5 separate regions of the Homo sapiens genome follow, and all the other regions are linked to region 3. Evidence: promoter capture Hi-C in 16 types of primary human blood cells and fetal thymus (Javierre and others, 2016). All regions are on one chromosome and are shown on one strand. The core of a region is centred on a gene start or on the middle of the fragment in contact, and the rest is flanking DNA. Distances in the headings are between cores, read along the strand shown.

The links. The method cuts DNA at HindIII sites, captures the fragments that hold promoters and counts their contacts. A CHiCAGO score of 5 or more calls a contact.
Region 1: the fragment with the promoter of ACTR5 here is called in contact with the fragment with the promoter of TTI1 in region 3 in 9 of 17 cell types (neutrophils, monocytes, non-activated CD4 T cells and 6 more); the score reaches 17.1 in neutrophils.
Region 2: a contact is called between a fragment that was not itself captured here and the fragment with the promoter of TTI1 in region 3, in 1 of 17 cell types (M2 macrophages). The highest score is 6.2, in M2 macrophages.
Region 4: a fragment that was not itself captured here is called in contact with the fragment with the promoter of TTI1 in region 3 in 1 of 17 cell types (M2 macrophages); the score reaches 5.2 in M2 macrophages.
Region 5: a contact is called between a fragment that was not itself captured here and the fragment with the promoter of TTI1 in region 3, in 1 of 17 cell types (fetal thymus). The highest score is 5.4, in fetal thymus.

The regions. Positions count from the first base shown.
Region 1 is chr20:38,747,149-38,749,856 of GRCh38, forward strand. ACTR5 (actin related protein 5) reads left to right here and starts at 1,312. Exons shown (of 9, transcript NM_024855.4): 1 at 1,312-1,705. The coding sequence starts at 1,331. RefSeq lists silencers at 788-1,057, 1,358-1,547 and an enhancer at 908-1,409. The HindIII fragment of the contact is 9,906 bases long and covers 1-2,708 here.
Region 2 is chr20:37,224,629-37,227,328 of GRCh38, forward strand. RPN2 (ribophorin II) reads left to right here. Exons shown (of 17, transcript NM_002951.5): 11 at 1,060-1,174. Among named protein-coding and RNA genes, the nearest start is that of GHRH, 36 kb to the right of the region's middle. The HindIII fragment of the contact is 5,718 bases long and covers 1-2,700 here.
Region 3 is chr20:38,032,179-38,034,878 of GRCh38, forward strand. It overlaps TTI1 (TELO2 interacting protein 1), which reads right to left and starts at 1,278. Exons shown (of 8, transcript NM_001303457.2): 1 at 1,226-1,278. It overlaps RPRD1B (regulation of nuclear pre-mRNA domain containing 1B), which reads left to right and starts at 1,568. Exons shown (of 7, transcript NM_021215.4): 1 at 1,568-1,920. The coding sequence starts at 1,770. It overlaps LOC124904898 (a long non-coding RNA gene), which reads left to right and starts at 1,928. Exons shown (of 2, transcript XR_007067579.1): 1 at 1,928-2,700. RefSeq lists enhancers at 1,009-1,604, 1,135-1,404, 1,605-2,200. The HindIII fragment of the contact is 7,242 bases long and covers 1-2,700 here.
Region 4 is chr20:37,199,530-37,202,229 of GRCh38, forward strand. The region is part of intron 4 of RPN2 (ribophorin II); the gene reads left to right. Among named protein-coding and RNA genes, the nearest start is that of MROH8, 21 kb to the left of the region's middle. The HindIII fragment of the contact is 680 bases long and covers 1,070-1,749 here.
Region 5 is chr20:37,172,684-37,175,383 of GRCh38, forward strand. It overlaps MROH8 (maestro heat like repeat family member 8), which reads right to left. Exons shown (of 25, transcript NM_152503.8): 3 at 1,312-1,433. Among named protein-coding and RNA genes, the nearest start is that of RPN2, 5.3 kb to the right of the region's middle. The HindIII fragment of the contact is 1,721 bases long and covers 540-2,260 here.

The sequences.
Region 1 (2,708 bases), core at 62-2,561, 720 kb after region 3:
CCAGCCTGGGTGACAGAGCCAGACTCCGTCTTAAAAAAAACAAACAACAACAACAACAAACACTGTTAATAGAGGTTCTTGAGATAAGTTAGGAGTTTCATTTCTCGCTTACAATATCTTTTGTAACTAATTTGATTTTATCTCTCAAACTGAAGTGTTATAGACCTGGTAGAGTAGATTCAAGGCAGCTGCTCTATTCTTTTTCTTCTTTCAAAATGGTTATGGCCAGCATGGGCAACATAGTGAAATCCCTTCTCTACTAAAAATATAAAAATTAGCTGGGCGTGGTGGTGCACGCCTGTAATCTCAGCTACTTAGGAGGCTGAGGCGGGAGAATCACTTGAGTCCAGGAAGTCGAGGCTGCAGTGAGCCGAGATCGCCCCACTGCACAAAAAAAGGTTGTAGTAAAACAACTGCTCTAATTCTTACCCCCTTAGCTAGTGAAAAGATGGAAATGCGACAGGATAGAGCGCGACGAGTGCTTTTAGGGCTAAAACTGAGTGGGTCACACACATGGCCTCCTCTCCCACCCGCTCCTGGCCAGAATTTAGTCACATGAGCGCATCTAGATCGCAGCCAGACGGATGGCCACGTGGGAGTGGGAGGTGATGCCACTAAAAGAGAGGGAATGCTTGGGGAACAATCAGCAGTCTTTTCTCAGGGTTTGAGAAAACACTGTGTCTTAGTGAGAAGACACAGTCTGTGCGAGTTAGTAAAGTGAACAGAACTGAGTAGTCAGCTCCCTAGTCAAGAAATTGAACAGTCGGCAGAGTTTGAGATTTCTTAACGTAAAGGAAGCGTCAAAAGATAAAGGACCCTTCTAGCCAGGACGCAAGACTGAGGGCGAGACAGCCACGCGGAGGCGGGGCCGCCGGCGGTCGAAGGTGCGCGCCCGGCCGACGGTGCGCGCCCGGCCGACGGTGCGCGCCCGGCAATGGGGCGTGGCCAGGCAGAGAGGCGGGGCTCCACCGAGCGCGGCGCTGAAGCTGGCAGCCAGAAAGGGGCGGGGCCTGGCGGCGATAGGCTTTGGGGCGGGGCTTCCAAACCGGGCGTCCCGGCTAGAGTGAAGGGGCGTGGGCACTCATAGGCTATTGGGGGAGAGGTTAAGAAACGTAGAATTTCGCAGCCAGAATGGGTACGTCTCAGCGATCCTGAAAGCAGCCTTGACAGCCAGAGGCGAGTCAAGTGGAAAGGCTGGCCGGGCTTCGAGAAGGGAGGGGGCATCGAGGTACTTAAAGGCCTGAATCGCGCGGCGTGACGTCGGGGGCGCGGTTTCGCGGCGTCTGGGCGGACACTGCGCCGAGGGGCGGGGCTGGACGCGCGCTCCAAGATGGCGGCGAACGTGTTCCCGTTCCGCGACGCCCGTGCCGCACCGGACCCAGTGCTGGAGGCCGGCCCGGTGGCACACGGGCCACTGCCGGTACCGCTGGTGCTGGACAACGGGTCGTTCCAAGTCCGCGCTGGCTGGGCGTGTCCCGGGCAGGACCCAGGTCCCGAGCCGCGCCTGCAGTTCCGCGCGGTGTGCGCCCGCGGTCGTGGCGGGGCACGGGGCGCGTCGGGCCCGCAGGTGGGGAACGCTCTGGGCAGCCTGGAGCCACTGCGCTGGATGCTGCGCTCGCCCTTCGACCGCAACGTGCCGGTCAACCTGGAGCTTCAGGAGTTGCTGCTGGACTACAGCTTCCAGCACCTGGGTGTCTCCTCACAGGTGAAGGGCGGAGTAGGCTGGGCTGGGCTGGGTTTGAGGGGAGGGGTGCGGTCTCGTCTCCGCTCACTCTGCTCTCGGAGAGGTAACAGTCACTTCAGTAGCTCCGATTGTCTTTTAGTCGACCAGATGCTAGGCGCTGTGGGTGTAGCAGCGAATAAAATGCTGCTCCTTGTATCTTGGAGCATACCTTTGGGCATATATGCTTGTTTGTTAAGAAGCCCATTTATTAACAAATACGTATTGAGCACTTACTCTGTGTCAGGCACTTTTTAGGCATTTGGAGTACATGTGTGAACACAAAACTTCCTGTGCTTATGGAGCTGTTAATACTATGGAAAGATATTCTAGTATGAAAAGGCAGACAGTAAACATAGAAATAGTAGATTCTACGCCGTGATAGGAGAGGAGGGAGTTACATTTTTTCAGTAAGATGGTCAGGGTAGGACTCGTGAAGGTGATGTTTGAGCAAGGACTTGAAGGAGGTGATTCAGGTAGCAAGCCATGTGAATATCTGAAGGAAAAACGGTCCAGGCAGAGGGAGCAGCCAGTAAAAAGGCCCCGAGGCAGGAGTGTGCCCTAATCCTAACTGCAAGGCTGCCTGTGTGAGGGGGAGAGTAGTACCTGAAAGAGGATGTCAGAGAGGTAGTGGAGAGGCAGATCACACACCTTATAGGCTTTTACTGAGTGAAATGGGGAGCCATGGCAGGGTGTTGAGCTGAAGAAGGACCTGACTTGTGTTTTAAAAGGATCACTATTACTGCTGTATGGAGAATGAATTGTCTTGGATCATAGGGTGGAAACAGGGACGAGTTAGGAGGCTGTTGGAATAACCCAGGTAAGGGATGATGGTGGCTTAGATGAGGCAGATAGCAGGGAATGTCATTAGAAGCAGTTGGATTCTGGAAATACTTTGAAGATAGAGCCAACACGATTTGCTGACAGTTTGGATGGGACCTTGACTTAATAACTTAAATTGACTCTACTTTCGTATTTTCAAGTAAAG
Region 2 (2,700 bases), core at 125-2,624, 810 kb before region 3:
AGTTGGGCCAGAATGCTGTAAGAAGCCTGCTCATCAGCCCTCCCCCAGATCCTTATTGGCTCAGCGGGGATCTAGATTTCTGGGGTATAGTCCAGACCCCAACTTTACTCAACTAGGGTAGCTATAGAGGCCAGAAGACAGTAGGGTGAACCATCAAGGCTCTTTGAAGATGGGATGTTAGCCAGAGGCTGGAAGCCAAGCAGCTACTCCTTTTAAATCACATAGAGTTGGCCTTTGTGTCTCTGGGTTGGCTATTTTTGTAGTGATATTGGAGATAAGAGCACTGTTTAAGAATCCACTGAAGAAATGTCTGTGCGAGCGCTTTGCTGTTTAATTCTCTGCCTAGATGAAGAGTTGGTCTTACTTACGAGTAAATGTAAAATGTGAGTATAAAATAAAGCCAGGTCTGAGCTCTGTAACCATTTGGCTGGTTTATCCCCTGGCCATCTTACCCTAAAATCCCAGGAGATAGCTGTGAAAAGAAGTTTTCCTCATCAAGTCTGCCTTTTGGGAAAATGACTTTTTAAAACCCAGTTTCAGGGCAGAAAACTAAATTGAAACAGTGTCCAGGAAAAAAATATAGCATTAAAAAAAGACAAAGCTGAAAGTACCCTTCTTTCTTTTGTGTCTCCTACCTGCCTTGTCTCGATTTTGCTCACGTGTGCTGCTGGCATCAATCCTGTAATTATTTCTCCTTGCGGTTCTGCCAGCCCGGCTCTCCTGTGTGCCTGCAGAGGCCACACGTGAGCTCCTCTGGTGCCTGACTTTGTTGGAGTTGAGAGCCTTAGGTCCTTGAAGTGAAAGCCCAGAGGTACAAGCATCTGTACACAGCATTTCCCCAGATCCTGCTGGAAGTTTATTCTGCACTTTTCTCAGTCCAGGCTTTATCAGTCCAATTTGCCCCCAGGTTGCAGACAGTTCTCCACATCTGTCTGTCCACAACAGAAGTGTTACTATGGGAGAGGGTGGTTGAGGCAATGAAGTGAAGTATATATTTTCTGCCTGTTCTCAGAGATATACTGATCCTCTCTGAAGACTAACTCTATATGCCTCTTTCAGGGTGACATACCCAGCCAAAGCCAAGGGCACATTCATCGCAGACAGCCACCAGAACTTCGCCTTGTTCTTCCAGCTGGTAGATGTGAACACTGGTGCTGAACTCACTCCTCACCAGGTCAGGAAGACACCTAGACAGTTCTCTTAACCTGAAATGTGAATGGATACTAGAGTTTACAATGTGGTCTATAACATGGACTAGAGAGAATTCCACGTTCCTGCTTTCAGGTTTTGACCGAACCCTGACAGTCCATCAGGTTCTCCCACATGACACTCTCACCCTTCTACTGGTTGTAGTCCTTTACCTGGGATACACCCTTCTTTCTAAAAAGTTAGCTGGTATTGAGGAGAGGTACTTAAGGCAGATTTGCACTTAATTAAGGTCATTCCTTCCTCCCTCCCTCCCTCAGATGGACTCTTGCTCTGTCACCCAGGATGGAGTGCAGTGGTGTGATCTCAGCTCACTGCAACCTCTGCCTCCTAGGTTCAAGCGATTCTCCTACCTCAGCCTCCCAAGTAGCTGGGATACAGGCATGCATTACCATGCCCAGCTAATTTTTGTATTTTTAGCAGAGACAGGGTTTCACCATGTTGGCCAGGCTGTTCTCATCTCCTGACCTCAGGTGATCCGCCTGCCTCAGCCTCCCAAAGTGGTGGGATTATAAGCATGGCACTAGACTCGAGGCTTTTTCTTTCTGATTTAAAAAAGGGAATGTGCTGGCCAGGCATGGTGGCTCACGCCTGTAATCCCAACACTTTGGAGGCAGAGGTAGGAGGATCACTTGAGCCCAGGAGTTGGAGACCAGCTTGGGCAATATGGTGAGACCTCATTTGTGTGTATGTATGTATGTATAAATAAATAAGGGAATATACTGAAATAATTTCAAAAGAAGACCCAAAGCATTTTTTTATTCTAGCCAAAGCAGATTTTGTATTTGTGGGACTCTGAAGAATAGCCCTTTTAACTTGTGCTTACTTTGTATTATGAAAGCAATAGGCTTTATTTTTTTCATAGAGTAATGAAAATTATTATTTAAAAGATTTTCAAACCATATACTCTTTCCCCTGAGAACCTAATATGGCCCCATGTCCACTCAGATACCCCCACTCCCACACTGCCTGTCATCCCCCTTGATGGAGAATAACCTGCCTTTAGTGTTACGTGAAGGAAGATTCAGATAAATACTTTGAATGCTGAAAGACAGGAATGCGGGACCTAGTTTGGTATGGGGTACCCTGTACCGATGCTTTAGCAAGGACCAGCAGACTTGTTGCCTTGAGGCAGCTTCAGGGCAGACCTCAGAGGCAACTGGATTTACTTGAGAACCTTCTTGCTTTCTGTTTCTTGCAGCTGCAGCTGTTGGACTTGTGCCCCAGGAGCACGTTCCTCTATGGCCACAGTCCTGGGAGTCCTCTGCTCCTCTCTCCTCCCTACTCCCAAACTCCAGACAGCTTGGTTAGGGCCCTTAGCCAAGCCTAACTGACCTTTGAGTACTTCAGCCTCTTAGCATTTCCCAGCTTCTTCCCAGAATGACATTTGCCAACCAAATAGCACAAGGGAAGGAAGAGTACAAAGAGAAGAAAGTAAAAGACTAAACTAGTAGGATTAGGATTAGAGCAAGGAGAGTTAGTGAGGAAGTGTAA
Region 3 (2,700 bases), core at 28-2,527:
CTACGCTGTCCAAAGGGGGATAATATAATACCTCACAGCTTTGTTGTGAGGATTAAATGAGTTACTGTGTGGGAATTGTGTCTAGCACATAGTAACCTCTCACTGCGTTAGCTATGATTATGATTCCAGTCTGGAGGAAGGGTAAAAGCATGTAAGCAAAGAACTGCAATACAGTGCAATAAGAGCAAAAGCAGGCATCAACTAGAAGAACGTCTCCTAAACTAGAGTCTGCCCACAACTAGGAAGTTATACCACGATCAGGAAATTTTAAAACCCTCTTATGTCTATAACTTAACTCCCTACCATCACCCCCGTGGCAGTAAGAAAAACAAAATTTCTCTGCTGCTTTGATACCTGGGATTTAAAACTTAAAAAAAAAATAGGGTCAAGGTTTAGAGTCTCAGATAGTGTTTTGTTTTGTTTCAGAGAAGAGTCTCGCTCCATCGCCCAGGCTGGAGTGCAGTGGCACGATCATAGCTCACTGTAACCTCTAACTCCTGGGCTCAAGGTATCCTCTCGCGTAGCTGGAACTGCAGGTGAGCGTCACCATGCCTGGCTAATTTTCGCTGTTACCCAGGCTGGTCTTGAACTCCAGTCCTCAAGCTATCCTCTCGCCTCGGCCTCCCAAAGGGTTGGGATTACAAGCAAGAGACGTTGCGCCAGGCCTCAAATAGTGTGTCTCAACATGAGGTCAACAGACACATTGGGAAGGCTAAGTTAGTTCCCTCCACCTTTTCCCTAAAGTTAACACCTCACTTAAGTTCGAAAAAGTCAACTGGACCCGCAGACGGCAAAAGCAGCACGTAATAATACCCTGAGTGAGAACCCACTTAAGAGCCGAGAGCCCAAATGTGTGTTTCATGACGGCGCTGTTACAGACTAAAAGGTCAAAACAGGACATTAAAGGGTGCTCCGGGGGGCTGAGTAGGAGCTCACCAGGTGAGAAAGGGGATGTCACTTTCGGACAGAGAACGAGCGCCAGGGCGTGGAGGCGTGAAAAGGGCACGTGGGTGGCTTGGAAGAACCAAAACTAAGTGTTTTGGGGGACAGCCAGAGAGCCGAACACATATGGAGGAAAGATGCGGCCTGGGGCCCGCCAGATTAGAAAGGAAATCCCCCTCCCATATCCAGATCATGATCTCTCAGACTCAATGTCCCCTCAGGATACCCCTCTACAGGGTCCCAGCTGCTGGGCTCCCTCTGGTTCCCGCCACTCTTCCCTTACCTCGTCTTCCAGCCTTTCTCTCACTCTCCCGCCTCCTCTGCCTCGCCGGAAGTGACGCGCTAAGTAGCGCGCCGTATCGCGCCAGAAAGGTTCCGAGGGAGCGGGAAAAAGGGTTCCGGCGAGATCCACTGCGCCGGTGTGCAGGCTCGAGCGGTCAAAGCTCTTTCCGGGGGCCCGGGGAACTACTCTCCTTGCCTCGCTCTGTCTCCTTCGAAGTGCTCTGCGCGAGGTTCAGAGCGGCCGCCGCCTCCAAAGGGACGGTTTTCTAGAGCTCCGACGCCTCTCGGTGCCCCTCTGCTCCGGCCCTTGCCCTTTGACCTCGCTCTCGCGGCAGGGTGAGAGGTCGGGTGGCCATCTTGTGGCGGCGGCGCGGGCGGCTGTTACTGCGGAGACCCATCCCCTCCCCCTTCTCGCACCCCTGGCAGTCTGTCAGTCGGTAAAAAGTCCCGCAGCCTGTCAGGTGAGGCCCCGGCCTCGTGCCGTCGCTCTTCCCGCCGCACTGGGCGGCCCAGGCCGCTCCCTGCCGGGCCTCACTGCCGCCACCATGTCCTCCTTCTCTGAGTCGGCGCTGGAGAAGAAGCTCTCGGAGCTGAGCAACTCTCAGCAGAGCGTGCAGACCCTGTCCCTTTGGCTCATCCACCACCGCAAGCACGCGGGACCCATCGTCTCCGTGTGGCACCGCGAGCTCCGCAAAGGTAAACACCAAATCCCCACCCCCTGGACGGTCCCCGGATTGTCCTCTCGCCCACATACAACCTAGGCCCCTCTAAGCCTCTTCATTGAGCCTTGCTTTCCAGGCCTGATCGAGCTTCTGAGATGGGAGACAAAGTTAGCCCCATTTCTCGAAGAAGGAAACTGAGGCCCGGGAAGGTTTAAGGTACTTGCCTGAGGGTCCACGGACTGGGACTCAGGTGTCCAGACTTCTAGTTCATCAAGCCATTTTCCCTTCAGTTTCCCCCTGACATTTGTGGCTGTTATTATCTCGGCTGCATTCACTGCCGTACTGGCCCTAGCATGTCGGGCCCAGTGCTGGGTATTTGGAGTAAAAGCCAGTGGGCTCCGGAGTCAGACTCTGCAGATCGAGTCCTGGCTCAGCTATTTGCCAGCTGAATAATACTGGGAGAGTTTCTTCATCTCCCTGTGTCTCCGTTTTCTCATCTGTAAGAGGGAGGCAAGGATAGCTACCCCTTACAAAGCCTTTACTTCATACCAGTCACTATACTAAGACCTTTGTGTGTATCCTCGCACTCAGTCCTTAGAACAGCCCTGTGAAGTAGGTAGTCTCTCCCATCTTAGGTTAAGGGGCCACCCAGACCTTACCTCTCCTCTCCTCTCCTCTCTCATGCAGTTGTCATTGATTTCAGGCCCTGCTCAGGTTCTGACAGACAATTCATTGAACTCATTCTGTTATGTGCCAGGCACTGGCTTGGACACTTGCAGCATGTTGCCTCTGCCAACTGCCTAGAATTTAAGCC
Region 4 (2,700 bases), core at 160-2,659, 830 kb before region 3:
GCAAGGGCAGATAACTGAGAAGGAGCCACGTGCATGTCTTGTTGAGGCTTGGCTAGGGCAGGATGACATGTTGGCAGTGGAGGCTCTGCAAAGTGGGGGCTCTCAGGATCCCTGGAAGTTGTGAAAGACAGCATCTGGTGGGTGAGGTGGTTGCTCAGAGGGTGGAGTATTCTAGGAATCAGACTCTACTACTCTGCAAAAGGCTTAGGTGAAGGAGAAGCACCTTTCCTATTTGTTATAAATGGAAATATTGTAACTTCAGGGTGTTTTTTGCTAAGCTCTTAAGTGATAATATATGTAGTTTTAAATTTTTATTTATTTAGAGACAGGATCTCACTCTGTCACCCAGGCTGAAGTGCAATGGTATGATCAAACTCACTGCAGCCTTGAACTCTGGGCTCAAGTGATTTTCCTACCTCAGCCTCCCGAGTAGCTGGACTACAGGTGCAAACTACCACGCCTAGCTAATTTTTTTTTTTTTTTGAGACGTGGTCTTACTCTGTTACCCAGGCTAGAGTGCAGTGACGCGATCTCAGTTCACTGCAACCTCCGCCTCCCGGGTTCAAGCAGTTCTCCTGCCTCAGCGTCTTCAGTGGCTGGGATTACAGGCGCGCCACCACGCCTGGCCAATTTTTGTATTTTTAGTAGAGACAGGGTTTCACCATGTTGGCCAGGTCTTGAACTCCTGACCTCAAGCAATCTACCTGCCTTGGCCTCCCAAAGTGCTGGGATTACAGGCGTGAGCCACAGCGCCCGGCTGCCCAGCTAATTTTTTTAGTTTTTAGTGGAGATGGGGCCTGTCTGTGTTGTCCAGGCCGGTTGTAATTTTTTTTTTTTTAACACTTAAACTGCTCCTTTAAAACAATATTTTTTTTGTCATTTTATTTGTGTTCACCGTTTCACTGCAAACCCTGAAGGAGGGTGTGGAGCACCGTTCTGGAATCCCGTTCGTTGTTTAGCAAGAGGTTGGTGATACCAAATCCCCCTTTCAAAACAGTGAGATTGTTTCCCAGGTTTTTTTGTTTGTTTTTTGTTTTTTTGCTGACAACCAGATTTTCTGTAAACTTAAAGCTTTGTTAAGGACAGGGTTCACAGGCAATTGACATTCCCTCTCTGTCCCTCCTCACACCCTCCCTATATTCACATGGTCAATCATCAGTGACTCTAGGGCTGACATTTTGTACACACTTTGTCCAGTGCTTGGCCCTTTTGGGCCTTTGATTTCAGGTGACATATTTTGATATCTGCTTTTAATCCCTCATGGGGAATGCTTCTCCAGTCACCATCATCTCATGCCATGATGCCACTGTTAGTGCCTGTGCCTTACTTTGATGCTACCTTCTACAAAAAAAATTCCCATTTCCTTCCAAGCAGAAGGGAAAATCCCCTTCCTCAAAACCCCAGAACCCCAGGAAGAAGTACAAGGGAAGTACGTCCACTTTGGAGTCAGACAGACTTAGGTTTGAACACCAGCTATTTCATTCCTTGTGTCTGACTTTGGCCAAATTTCTAACTTCTCTGAGCCTTGCCTTTAAAATGAAACCCATAATTCTTACATCAAAGCAACTGACAGGATTAAATGAGATAATAGGTGTGAAGACCCTAGCGCAGTGCCTGGTTCTTGGTGGGCGTGTAGGAAACGGAGTTCCTTTTCTGGACCATTTGTTTGTTAGGTCCCTAACAAACAGGTCCCCCTTCTTAGAGAGTTTGTTACTTCCTTCGTTGTTGTTATTTGTATGTTAGGTCATAAGCTTTTTTTTTTTTTTTTTTGAGACAGGGTCTCACTGTGTCATCTAGGCTGCAGTGCAATGCGATCATATTTAAAGCTCACTACAACCTCAAACTCTTGGGCGTGAGCGATTCTCCCACCTTAGCCTTCTGAGTAGCTGGGACTATAATCACATGCCACCACACCCAGCCATAAGCTTTACTTGCAGTGCTTAGAGAGCCTGGCACATGGTCTGTACCCAACGGAGTTAATAAAGGATGAAACTATACTTTTGTGTTTCTGTTGTCTTGTAGAAAGCTCATAGGTAGGAAGAACATACGCTTTGGAGCAGAAAGAACTGTGTTCAAATCCATTCTTCTACTCAACCTCTGTGACCATGAGTGGGTTGTTTAGCCCGCCTAAACCTCAGTGTTCTCATATGCAAACCTGGAGAATGTCTCGTAGGGTCATTGTGAAATCCAACTGGTAGGTTGCCTTATATTACTACTAATTTGCGCTATTAAAGGCAAGCTGATATAAATTAGAACTCTTCTGAATGGGCCTTCTATATTTAAATGGGCTTTTTCTAGGAAGTGTATATTTGTAAACTTGTCTTGAATGGAAAAAAAGAAAATACTTGTAGATTTGAATGAACCACCTGAGAAGATCTCATTGTAGTCTGTCATAAATCAATTTCTCTGAATCATCTGCTATATATTAGCAAGATAAGATCTGCTTTCTTAGTGTTCGAATACAGTACTATGCTCCAGAGAAAAAGAAATTGCTGGCTGGGGAATAAGTAATTAAAGCCAGTGACAAAACTTTCTAAAACTCAGTGGATTAATTTCATTCTAAAACTTCTGAGGTTGTTACCAGCACGGCACTCTCTCATTCCAAAGAGAAAAAAATGATATCTTAATTGAGAAGTTCTTTCTAGGCTATCTTAACTGCCTTTTCTGAGCACAGCGTTTATCACGGGCAGATGTGTGATT
Region 5 (2,700 bases), core at 150-2,649, 860 kb before region 3:
AGAGATGGGATTTCGCTATGTTGGCCAAGCAAGGTCTCGAACTCCTGACCTCAGGTGATCCACCCGCCTCAGCCTCCCAAAATGCTGGGATTACAGATGTGAGCCACCGTGCCCGGCCACCACTCTACTTTTGCATTCTTTTTGATTTCTTGAATGCCTCTTCAGTAAACTCTACCCACTTCCTGCCATATTCCTATCATCCACTAATTGCAATAATTGAAGCCATGTTCTCATTCTGATCTGTGCACAGGCTGTTCCTTCTGCCTGCATTTTTCTCCTTCTTCTCCCCCACCTTCCCTTACCTATCTTTGCCTTGCTAACTCCTACTCATCCTTCAAGTCTCAGCTCCAGGATGCCTTTCGTGTATGCCCTTTTTGCCTATTTTGGCTAAGTATCCCCAAGTCACTAATAAACCGCTCTGTATCCACTCTGGCTCTCCCACCCCCATCACACTGATTGCACTGAGTTCCATTTGCCTGTTCATCCGTAGGTATACTGTGTCTGTTCTGTTCGATGCTATATCTCCAGCTGCTAGATTAAGCTTAGAGCACAGGAGGGCTTCATTAAGTATTTGCTGAATGAATGTATGAATGAATGAAGGTAGCTTCAAACACACCAGGATCTTTCCTGTGTCATGCACATGCTGTCCCCATCTATCTGTAGTACTCCCTATACTCACATGAGTTACTCTCACATCTTTCAAGCCTCCTTTAGATTTAAATAGCACTCATGGTCTCATACAGGTGTTCTCTGACAACCAGAGTTTCAAGTAGGTTCCTATTGCCCTTATTTTTGTCTCAGCCTGTTCTTCCATACTGCTTACTACAAGTTGTAGTTACTTCAGTGACTGTTTACTCTTTTTGGTCTCTTTTCTGCACAATAATGTAAGTTCTATGAGGGCAGTGACCATGTTGGTCATGTCTACTGTTGTATTCCCAGCTCCTGGTACTCAATACATGTTTTGTAGAATGAAAGTTATTCTGAAGCCCAATCCAGATCTTACCTTCTGCATAAAGTCCTCCCACTCCAAGGTATCCCACACTGCCCTTTCCCTCCTCAGAATCCCTCAAGCACTCACACTCTTCTGCAGAACTGTCTCAGGACCAACCTTAGTTTCCTGGACATCACGAACCATGTATCTCATTTTGCCAACTGTATTTCAAGGTCTCAAAGTCAGGGACCAAATTCATCATCAAAGTCTAGTCAAGGGCTGGTCACCCAGCAAGTACTCAATCAATACCTCTTGGCCTGAGTTGAAAATACATTCTCTTTTCCCCTCCCCTCCCCTTTCTAGTCCTTTCTCCTTTTTACCTGTCAGTTCAATGCTACTTGAGCCTTTTTTAATAATCTCTAAGTTGCTCAGCTCCAAATCCACACTTTCTGAATCACTGTCATAGGCACAGGGGATCACTACTTCTTCCTGACTACAGATCCTAGGAATAAAGAGGAGATGCGAAAAATTAGTTTTCCAGGACTGCTTCTGTCTCATCATTTATTTGAAAGCCTCAATGTCACTTTCTGAGAGAGGCATTTATTCATCACCAATCTAGATTAAGTAGCTCCCACCATCCTGGCCCCACAGTTACCTTCTTATTTTTTTCATGGTATTTAACCACCACCTACAATTACCTTGCTCATTTGGTTTATTTGTTTGACTGTCTCCTATCAGACTATAAACTCCATTAGAGAGAACCCTCGTCTACATGGTCACATTTGTATCCCCAATACCTACCTAGCATGTTGTCAGTCTCATTAGGAGTGAATGGATAGGTAAGAAATACTATGCTGCTGTTAAAAACAATGCTGGGTGCAGGTGGCTCACGCCTGTAATCTCAGCACTTTGGGAGGCTGAGGCGGGCAGATCACCTGAGATCAGGAGTTCAAGACCAGCCTGGCCAACATGGCAAAACCTGGTCTCTACTAAAAATACAAAAAATAGCCGGGCATGGTGGCACATGCCTGTAATCCCAGCTACTCGGGACACTAAGGCAGGAGAATCACTTCAACTGGGAGGTGGAGGTTGTAGTGAGCCGAGATTGTGCCACTGCACTCCAGCCTGGGTGACATAGCAAGACTCCATCTCAAAAAACAAACAAACCCATCAAAAAAACCAGATTGAGGTAGAACACCTCACCAAACTCCCTCTATCTTCCTTACCCTTTCCTACTTTTTCTTTTTACCATAGCACGTAACACCTTCCAATATATCTTTCACTTGTTTATGATGTTCATTGTCATTTATTTCCTCCTGCTAAAATGTAAGCTTCATGAGGGCAAGAATCTTTGGCTGCTTTGTTCATGAATGTATCCCAGGAGTCTAGAACAGTGACATACAGAAGTGCTCAACAATTATTGGCAGAGTAAATGATTGAGCAGGTCTCTATTTACTGAATGTTTAGCATAGATTCATGAAAGAAAAAGCAAGCTGTCAAACAATGGATATGACATTTTTCATTAAAACAAAACTATTTTCACAAAAGTATAAGTATATGTGTATACACACAGAAACACACACACACAAATGTTGGCATACATGAAAAAAAACTTATGGAGGCTGGGTATGGTGGCTCACTCTGTAATCTCAGCATTTTGGGAGGTTGAAGTGGGAGGACTGCTTGAGCTCAGGACTTCGAGACTAGCCTGGGCAACACGGTGAGACCTCATCTCTACAAAAAAGTAAAAAATTGGCCAGGAGCGGTGG